Regions from separate parts of the Homo sapiens genome. Here region 1 is linked to region 2. Evidence: promoter capture Hi-C in human tissues and cell types (Jung and others, 2019). All regions are on one chromosome and are shown on one strand. Each heading gives the region's core, a stretch centred on a gene start or on the middle of the fragment in contact. The rest is flanking DNA. Distances are from core to core; before and after follow the strand shown.

What was found. Contacts are between HindIII fragments. The study calls those that stand out against the background at their distance.
Region 1: a contact is called between a fragment that was not itself captured here and the fragment with the promoter of LMTK2 in region 2, in 1 of the 25 tissues and cell types used here (lymphoblastoid cells).

The regions. Positions count from the first base shown.
Region 1 is chr7:96,196,149-96,200,097 of GRCh38, reverse strand. All of the region lies in intron 5 of SLC25A13 (solute carrier family 25 member 13), which reads left to right. Among named protein-coding and RNA genes, the nearest start is that of MIR591, 22 kb to the left of the region's middle. The HindIII fragment of the contact is 3,805 bases long and covers 739-3,949 here.
Region 2 is chr7:98,104,037-98,108,138 of GRCh38, reverse strand. LMTK2 (lemur tyrosine kinase 2) reads right to left here and starts at 1,277. Exons shown (of 14, transcript NM_014916.4): 1 at 859-1,277. The coding sequence starts at 961. The HindIII fragment of the contact is 4,738 bases long and covers 1-2,636 here.

The DNA of each region.
Region 1 (3,949 bases), core at 1,392-3,891, 1.9 Mb after region 2:
ATATTTATTTTTTGGCATTTTTGGCTTTATAATATAAATCACCTGGCTCTCCTGCTTGTTTTGAGGGACTGGGTTTTTTGGGTTTTTGTTGTCATTGTTGTTGTTGTTCCTGATAAATTGTTCTCAGGCTAAAGCACAAACTTGCATGTCTGAATAGAGATGGAGAGAATATTTTATATTCAAAATATACCTACCTGAAAATTGGAGATTATTAAGGAAATGACAGGCCTGGAACTATTAGAAGCACGAATGTTAGACCTAAAGTAGTGTAACCCCTATATATGTTTATTCTGTACAACTAGCAATTTTGAAGAGTTTGATTTTTTTTTTCTACAGCAGTCTGAATGGGTGTGTTGAAGTAGTTGGAAACTGCTGCAATAAAAGCCTGTTGCATTAATCATCATGCACCAGAATAGAGGGAACAGAAAATAGTTCACTGGCACATATTAAAGAGAAATTGGGCCTCCTTTCATGTACTTGAGTGGAACTGCCTTAGAGATAGCTGCAGAACTCCTGCTCTTGGACCTTCTGGCCTTAGGTGATAGGAAGGGCCATTTGTCTTCAGTTGGTAACTGTCTTCGGCAGCAGCATTTAGTAAGCACCCATTGCCTGGTACTGTTAAGAGCTCTCTTTAGAGAGACACTTCATTTTCTCAGCTCTCTGGATTTGCTACAAGGTTTCAGGCCCTGTGTCTTATTTTCTTTATTCACTTATTTAGGTATCAGTTTGATTTTTGTTGTCTGCCTGCTCTTTGTATGCACTGTGGGATGATCTCACCCATTTCTACAATCATCTTTTTCTTCATCTGGTTTTTGGTAGGTCCCCTCTAAAAGGAACAGGCAGTCTGTGTAGGCTAACATCATGGCTCCAGAAGCCGACTGCCTGGATGCATATTCAGTTTCATCCTTGCCCGTGTCACCCTTGGCTCATTCTTACCTCATTTTTCCATCTTCAGAACAGAGGTGATGGTAGGACCACCTCGGTTGTGGAGAGGATTCAAAGAGATGAAGCAGGGAAAACACAACAGTCCCTGGGACATAGCATGCACTTAATAACTTAGTAAACGTTCTCCTTGTGATGTTTTCTCTAAAATCCTGTTATCTGAATTTCCCAGATCTGTATTTCTACCTGTACCTTCAGCTTTCTTTTGTGTGCCTCTTAACTTTTTGTTTATAACTGAAACTCACTTCATTCCAGGTTTTTCATCATGGTCAACCACCTCATCTCTTTCCCCTTAAGTATTTTCCTTTGTGGTAGAGTATCTTCCCCATCATTCAAAATGTGGATTTTTGAGATATATCTTACTTCATTTATATATTCAAATCATCATCAAAATTTTCTTAAAGTCTCTTTTCCTACCTGTCCAAATCTAGTTATGACCCCCTTATTTATGATTTTGCCTGAGGCAGCATAAGTTAGTAGTTAAGAATCTCAGTTTTAAAAGCTGACATCCCTTGCTTTGGATCTTAACTCTTCCACTTTTTAGTTGTGTGACTTTAGGCTAGTTACCTGACCTCTCTGAACTTCAGGTGCCTCTGTGTAAAATGAAGATAATAATCATTACTTCACAGAAGTATTGTGAGGCTTAAGTGAAATGCTGTCTTTGAAGTTCTTGGCATAGCCCCTGGTCTGTAGTGAGTGTTGAAGCATTCAGCTTTTGTTATCCTCCATCCTGGCTGATGTTCATTTTTCCGTTCCTGTGGCTAGTTCAGAATGATTGAGCAGAACCACTGTTTCATATTGCAAGAGACTTTAGAGGTTTTTAAACCTTTCACCTGGACAAAAATCAAAGCCACTGTTTTTTAAATGCCTGTCATTCATGACCTCTGGTTTTTACAACCCTGCACAGTAGGTGGTGTTGTGCCTATTCTGTAGAAGAAAATCTGAGGCTCTAAGATGCAAACAATCACCTGAGCTCTCCCGGGTGGCAGTGTCATGACTTCTGTTTACGCTCTACCCATGCCTGTTCCAGATTTCTTATTGTCATCATAATGTATGGCTTCCATAACTCCCTCTATTAAAGATAAGGTTAAATTCTTGACATGTGTTCCTCAGCCTATGGTTGAACACGTATTTCTGGTGTCAGGGAACCTGCTACTTTTCAAGGTAGCCCATTTTACTGCTGAATAGTTCTATAGGTTAAAGACTTCTTCTGTGTACTGTGCTAAACTCTGACCCCTATAGCATCTCTCCATTTTTTCAAAAGAAATAGAGGGGCAGCCTAATATTTTTTTTACTTGATAGTCTTTTAACTTTTAAATATGTGAATGTAATGATTACTGCCCATATTGTTCTCCCCTCCTCTGCACAGATGACTCGTTTACTTCTGATCCCCTTCATTTTAGAAATAAATACTATTTTGTATATGCTATATTTCATGCATACTAAAAGCTCTCTGTCTCTGTTTTATCCCTTCTGAGTTGAGATCTAGGAGCTGTCAGTCTCTTGACAACCCATAGTATACATTCAGATTTTCATTAAATAGCTTTTGAGGTGCAAACCAGGAGCTTTGATTTTAAGTCATTCTGCCATGAGTAGTGAGCCTAGTCATTTATTTCAAAGACCACACATTTCTTTCATATTTACGGAGTAACCTATGTGTTAGCTCCCACTGGCCTCCTGATTTAATTTTTTCCTCCTTTGTCTCTTGGGGCTATGGGAAAGAGAGCAAAAAGGGAGTGAGGCCAGGAGAAGGCCTTTTAGATTTGGTTTCTCTCCTCCTTGGTCTCTGCTACTATTGGTAAAACAATCCTGATGCTCTGGGTGTACAGAAGCCCTTTGCCTTAATGGAAAACTTTAGGGAATTTTATTATTTTTCCACAAAAATAGGCAACAGTAAAATCTAGAGCATTAAATGCAAATTGAGTTTTTATCTTTCCACAGCTGTTAAGATTTCTTAGTGTCAAATTTATTTTTTAATCAAATTCCTGACAGTAGCTTTGTCTGAGGTTCCCCATGCAGTTGAGTGAAGTATTAGGAGCATGGGTAGATAGAGGGCTGGGGAGTAGAAATGCTGAGGCTTGAATTCCAGCTTTACTGCTTCCTGTCAGTGAGACTTTAGTTTGCTCAACTGCTATAGTGAGGTTAATAATAGTACCTACCTTATAGGCTTGCAGTAAGCATTCCATGAATTAATTCCTGTAAAATGCTTTACAGCAGTGCCTGCTGCATAATACATGCTTGCTAAGTGCTATTGCATGGTTGTCATACTGGTTGAGGTCATGGTTTCATTTCTTCACCCGGAAGGAGAAACAGTCACGACATAAACAGATGATCTTCAGAAGGCAACCCACGTCTTCAGAATGCTGCTTTTAAAGTTGGAGAGCCACCTAACTGCGTGTTTTCACTCTGTCCTGCTATTTAGAGAACTACATAGATCTAGCATTTTGTCTTCTGTGGAACTTATAATGCCCCCAATCTTTAAGAGCTGTTGGAAATGTATTCTCAGGTTGTTCATCATCAGACTTAAAATAACTTTCTTACTCCAACTTGAGGGGTCCCTGCTCATAGATGTTTAATCATGGAAGCGTGGGCACAGGATGTGTTGTAACACTGTCCTAATCACAGGTATGTCCCCTGTCCTGCTATGTGAGCACCAGCCCCCACCTTGGCATCCATTCCCAATCTGGAATTCTGGACAGGCTGGTCTTAGCATTGTGGCTTCCTGCTTTCTGAGGAGATGGGGTTGCCAGAGAAAGCGGTGCCATTTTTGGTATAATTGTCTGAGGATCTCTAAGATGTTGAGTTATAAACTAGGGAAAATGGTAAATCGCTGAACATACCTTCTACTATTGTTGAGAGTAGTCTTGGCTTAGCTAGCTTTAGCAATGGGTCTGGTAATTCAAAGGAGACTGTTCATTTACTTTCAATTGAATACGCACTGTGGTCATTTTTCACTACAGGGTGTTTAACAGTTGATTTCTTCTTCCTTAATTGGAAGCACTCATAT
Region 2 (4,102 bases), core at 28-2,527:
ACTCTAACATTCTATGAATGTATGAAATTTCAATCTTTCCCCATTTCAAAGGTAATGGCGGCAGTCAATAACGCCAAGTTAGCCTAGATTTTTTTTTCCTTTTTAGAAAAATGACCCAACTTGGGATGTTTTCTTGGGTTGAAGTTTTATTTAGGAAAATAAACCCCAAATAAAAACGATGTTGAGAAAATGGGCGGGGGGGGAGAAAAGAAAATCATACACTGACGTTAGCTAAAATAGAAACTTCCATCACCCTTAAGCCAGTTTGTCAATAGTTATTCAACGCCTGCTACTCTAATCACTGGCTTCCTAAAATAGAAATATTTATAGTTGTTTCCTTCTCATCCCCGGAGATACATTCCGAATAAAAAGCACAGCGTCTAAAATCAATTTACAACTTCAGAATAAGTTGCAAGGAGCGAAAACAAACTCCGCACAGCTCGCCAAGTCATTTGCATTTAAGTATGATTAGGGCTAAGAAACGGTTCTTATGAGATGCGAAAAAAAAGCACAAGAGGCAGGTGACATCTGGAAAGGGAAGCTGAACTGCCAGGAAGCGATATAAGCTGAGGATCTTAAGGCAACAGGTCCAGGGCCGGCACCGCAGCCTATCCCGGGAGGGGTCGGTGGCTGCTACCTCGCCCGCCGCCCTCCCCAGCCCCAACGACGTCGCCTCGCTCCCGCCCCCCCAAATCCCACGCCCCTGCGGCAGAAATCTCCCTAATCACTCGCCTCCCTGGGCTTCCCGCCCCCGGCAGGCCCTCCGATTCCTCGGCGCCGAGGCCGGCCCGGCCCTGCCGCCCCCTCCCCTCCACGCCGAAGACCCCGCAGCCCCGTCCCCGCCGCGGGCCCGCTCACCTGCACCTGTTTGCGGAAGTGGCGCGGCCCCAGCACTGCCGGCGATCAGGAGGACCAGCAGCAGCAGCAGCAGCCTCCGCCGCAACGCCGGCGGCCCCGGCATCTCGCCCACGGCGCGGCTCCGGGGCCGGCCCTCGAGTCGCCTTCCGTCCGTCCGTCCGTTCGCCCGTCAGTCGATCCTGCCTCCCTCCGCTGCCTCAGTGGCACCCGCGCCGGTTGCTCCCGAGCACACGTTGCTTCTGCCAAACCTCGGTCCGGCTCCCGGTCCGCACCTGCCGCTCCAGTCGCAGAAACACCATCCTTCCCGCCCGCCTGCGCCGCCGCCGCCGCCTCTCAACAGCAGCAACGCCAGCAGCCCTGCGGAGCGGCGGGCCTGGGAAGCCGCGCTCCCGCCGCCATGATGGGCTGCGTCATGTGACGTAGCGCGGGGGCGGGATGTCGTGATGGACAGGGCGGCCAGCCACTCGTCAGTCCACACCGGCCCAGGAGGCCCCGCCCATCATCCTGAAGGAGTGAGCGGTGGCGGCCGGTGCGCCCCCTGCAGACGGAGGAGTGCGTGGGCAGCAGGTAACACCAACAATTATTTTAAATTGAAAAATACAGGAAAATGTAAAGAAGACCATGACAATCATCCTGATATTTTTTTCTCGGTGTTTTATAACATGCAAAAATAGGCCTGTCTTGTCTTCTGCCTTTTTTTTTTTTTTACTTGTCAGAGCTGTTTTAGGCTCTTCTCCTTAAGTTGACCTACACATCCTCTCAGCCATCAAACAGCTTTGGGCTTTTCACTTGAATTGATCAAGAGAATGCCTCTCTCGGCATCACCCACTGACTCACCTCCTGAGCTCAAGCTGTTGCCTCTTGTCCACCTGGCAGACACTCTTCCTTTCATCTGTCGAGACTCACCTGACATATGACTTCATCTATGACTCTCTAGGAGAAATGACTGTCATCTCCTTAGTGCCCCGCCCTGGCCCTGTGTGGACTGCTATCCTAGCTGCAGTATCCTATTGACCCGTGACTGTAAGCTCCCTGAGGACAGCAACTGTGTCTGATTCAGCTGGTGGGAAATCCCTGGTGCAGGACCTGGGTCGGAGCAGGTGTTCTCTAAAGCAATGGTGCATGGCCCTGGTCCCAGGTACCAGGGCAGAGCAGCTCCCAGGGGTGGCCTTCTCCCCACCAAGAGGTGAGGTGAGAACACAGTCCTGCAGAGAGGATAGAGAAAGCACTCTCCAGACACAAGTAATATAGTGGTCAGAGGCATGGGGGTTGGGAAAATGCTAAGCTTTTCTGGAGAGGCGCTATGGTTCAGTGTGTGCATGAGAGGAGCTGATTTCAATCTTATCAGATGAGACTTTGCCACCTGGCAACAGTGTAACCTCCCCAATTCTCCAAACTCCCCAAATGTCCATCCTAAATGCCAGCTGTCGATGATGTTAACACAGCACTGGACACACAGATGATGCCCAGGGAATATTTGTTGGATGATTGAGGCAAGCCAATAAATATCTAAGGAGACAAATACCTGGAACGAGAAACATTGAATTTAAAAGTCCATGGCTTGGCTGGGCACGGTGGCTCACACCTGTAATCTCAGCACTTTGGGAGGCCAAGGTGGGTGAATCACTTCAGACCAGGAGTTCAAGACCAGCCTGGCCAACATGGTCATACCCCATCTCTACTAAAAATACAAAAAGTATTAGCCAGACACGGTGACGCATGCCTGTAATCCCAGCTGCTTGGGAGGCTGAGGCAGGAAAATTGCTCGAACCCAGGAGGCGGAGGTTGCGGTGAGCTGAGATCACACCGCTGCACTCCAGCCTGGGCGACACAGCGAGACTCTGTCTTAAAAAAAAAAAAGTTCACGGCTTTCTGCTGATTATATGCAGAATTGGTAAGGAAGGCAAAGGTCTAGGAAAGAGACACAATCACCCTGTTGTACTTCTACTTCTTTTTTTTTTTTCTTTGAGACAGAGTCTGTCTCTGTCACCAGGCTAGAATGCAGTGGTGCGATCTCAGCTCACTGCAACCTCTGCCTCCTGGGTTCAAGCGATTCTCCTGCCTCAGCCTCCTGAGTAGCTGGGACTACAGGTGCCCGCCACCACACCTGGCTAATTTTTGTATTTTCAGTAGAGACAGGATTTCACCATGTTGGCCAGGATGGTCTCGATCTCTTGACCTCGTGATCTGCCCACTCCGGCCTCCCAAAGTGCTGGGGTTACAGGCATGAGCCACCGCGCCTAGCCTATACTTCTACTTCTATCAGGAAGCTTCTCACTTTGAGTTCAGAGAAGCCAGGGACACCCACACTGTGTACTGCAAGGAGGCTCGTGACTGCCTGCTGTAGTGCTGGCCTAAGGAAGGCCTTACCTGATAATCCTGGTAGTGGTTATTTACAACTAAAGTGCACTCCAACAGCACGTTGGACCACAATCCCAAAGTAGATTTTGCTATTATTTGAGCAAGCCCAAAAGTTAAAACAAACAAACAAATAAACAAACTTCTTTTCCTCTTTCACAGAACAGGGGTTACAGTGCACATCCCCCAGATGATGTCTAAAGGCAGCCTTTGCCCCACCACCCACCTCACCGTGTATGCCTTTACTCAATACTTGAAGACTTCCAGTTAGAGATGTTATTAAACAAACAAAAACCTGTTGGCTTTGTTTAGTTTCACCCAGAAGTCAGAAAACAGCCTTTAGCACAATTTGGAAATCAATACCTAAGATTAGAAGCAATATCTTTCAGTGTTTTACAGCCATTCTTTTTTTTTTTTCTTTTTTGAAACAGGGTCTCGCTCTGTCACCCAGGCTGGAGTACAGTGGTGTGATCTTGGCTCACTGCAACTTCTGCCTCCCATGCTCAAGTGATTCTCCTGCCTCTGCCTCCTGAGTAGCTGGGGTTACAGGCGCCCGCCACCACACCTGGCTAATTTTTGTATTTTTAGGAGAGACAGGGTTTCACCATGTTGGCCAGGTTGGTCTTGAACTTCTGACCTCAAGTGATCTGCCCACTTCGGCCTCTCAAAGTGTTGGGATTATAGGCATGAGCCACCACGCCCAGCCCTTTACAGCCATTCTTGCAAGTTTTCCTTCATGCCAAGCCTCTTTCAAGTTTTCCTTCATGCCAAGCTATCGCTTGGAAGACCCTCCTGCCAGTGTCTGTCCTGCCAGCAAGCTCTGGCTGAGGCCTGGATGCTGAAGGATGTGGAGTCAGCTTAGTATTGGATGAGCACTTCTGGAGCT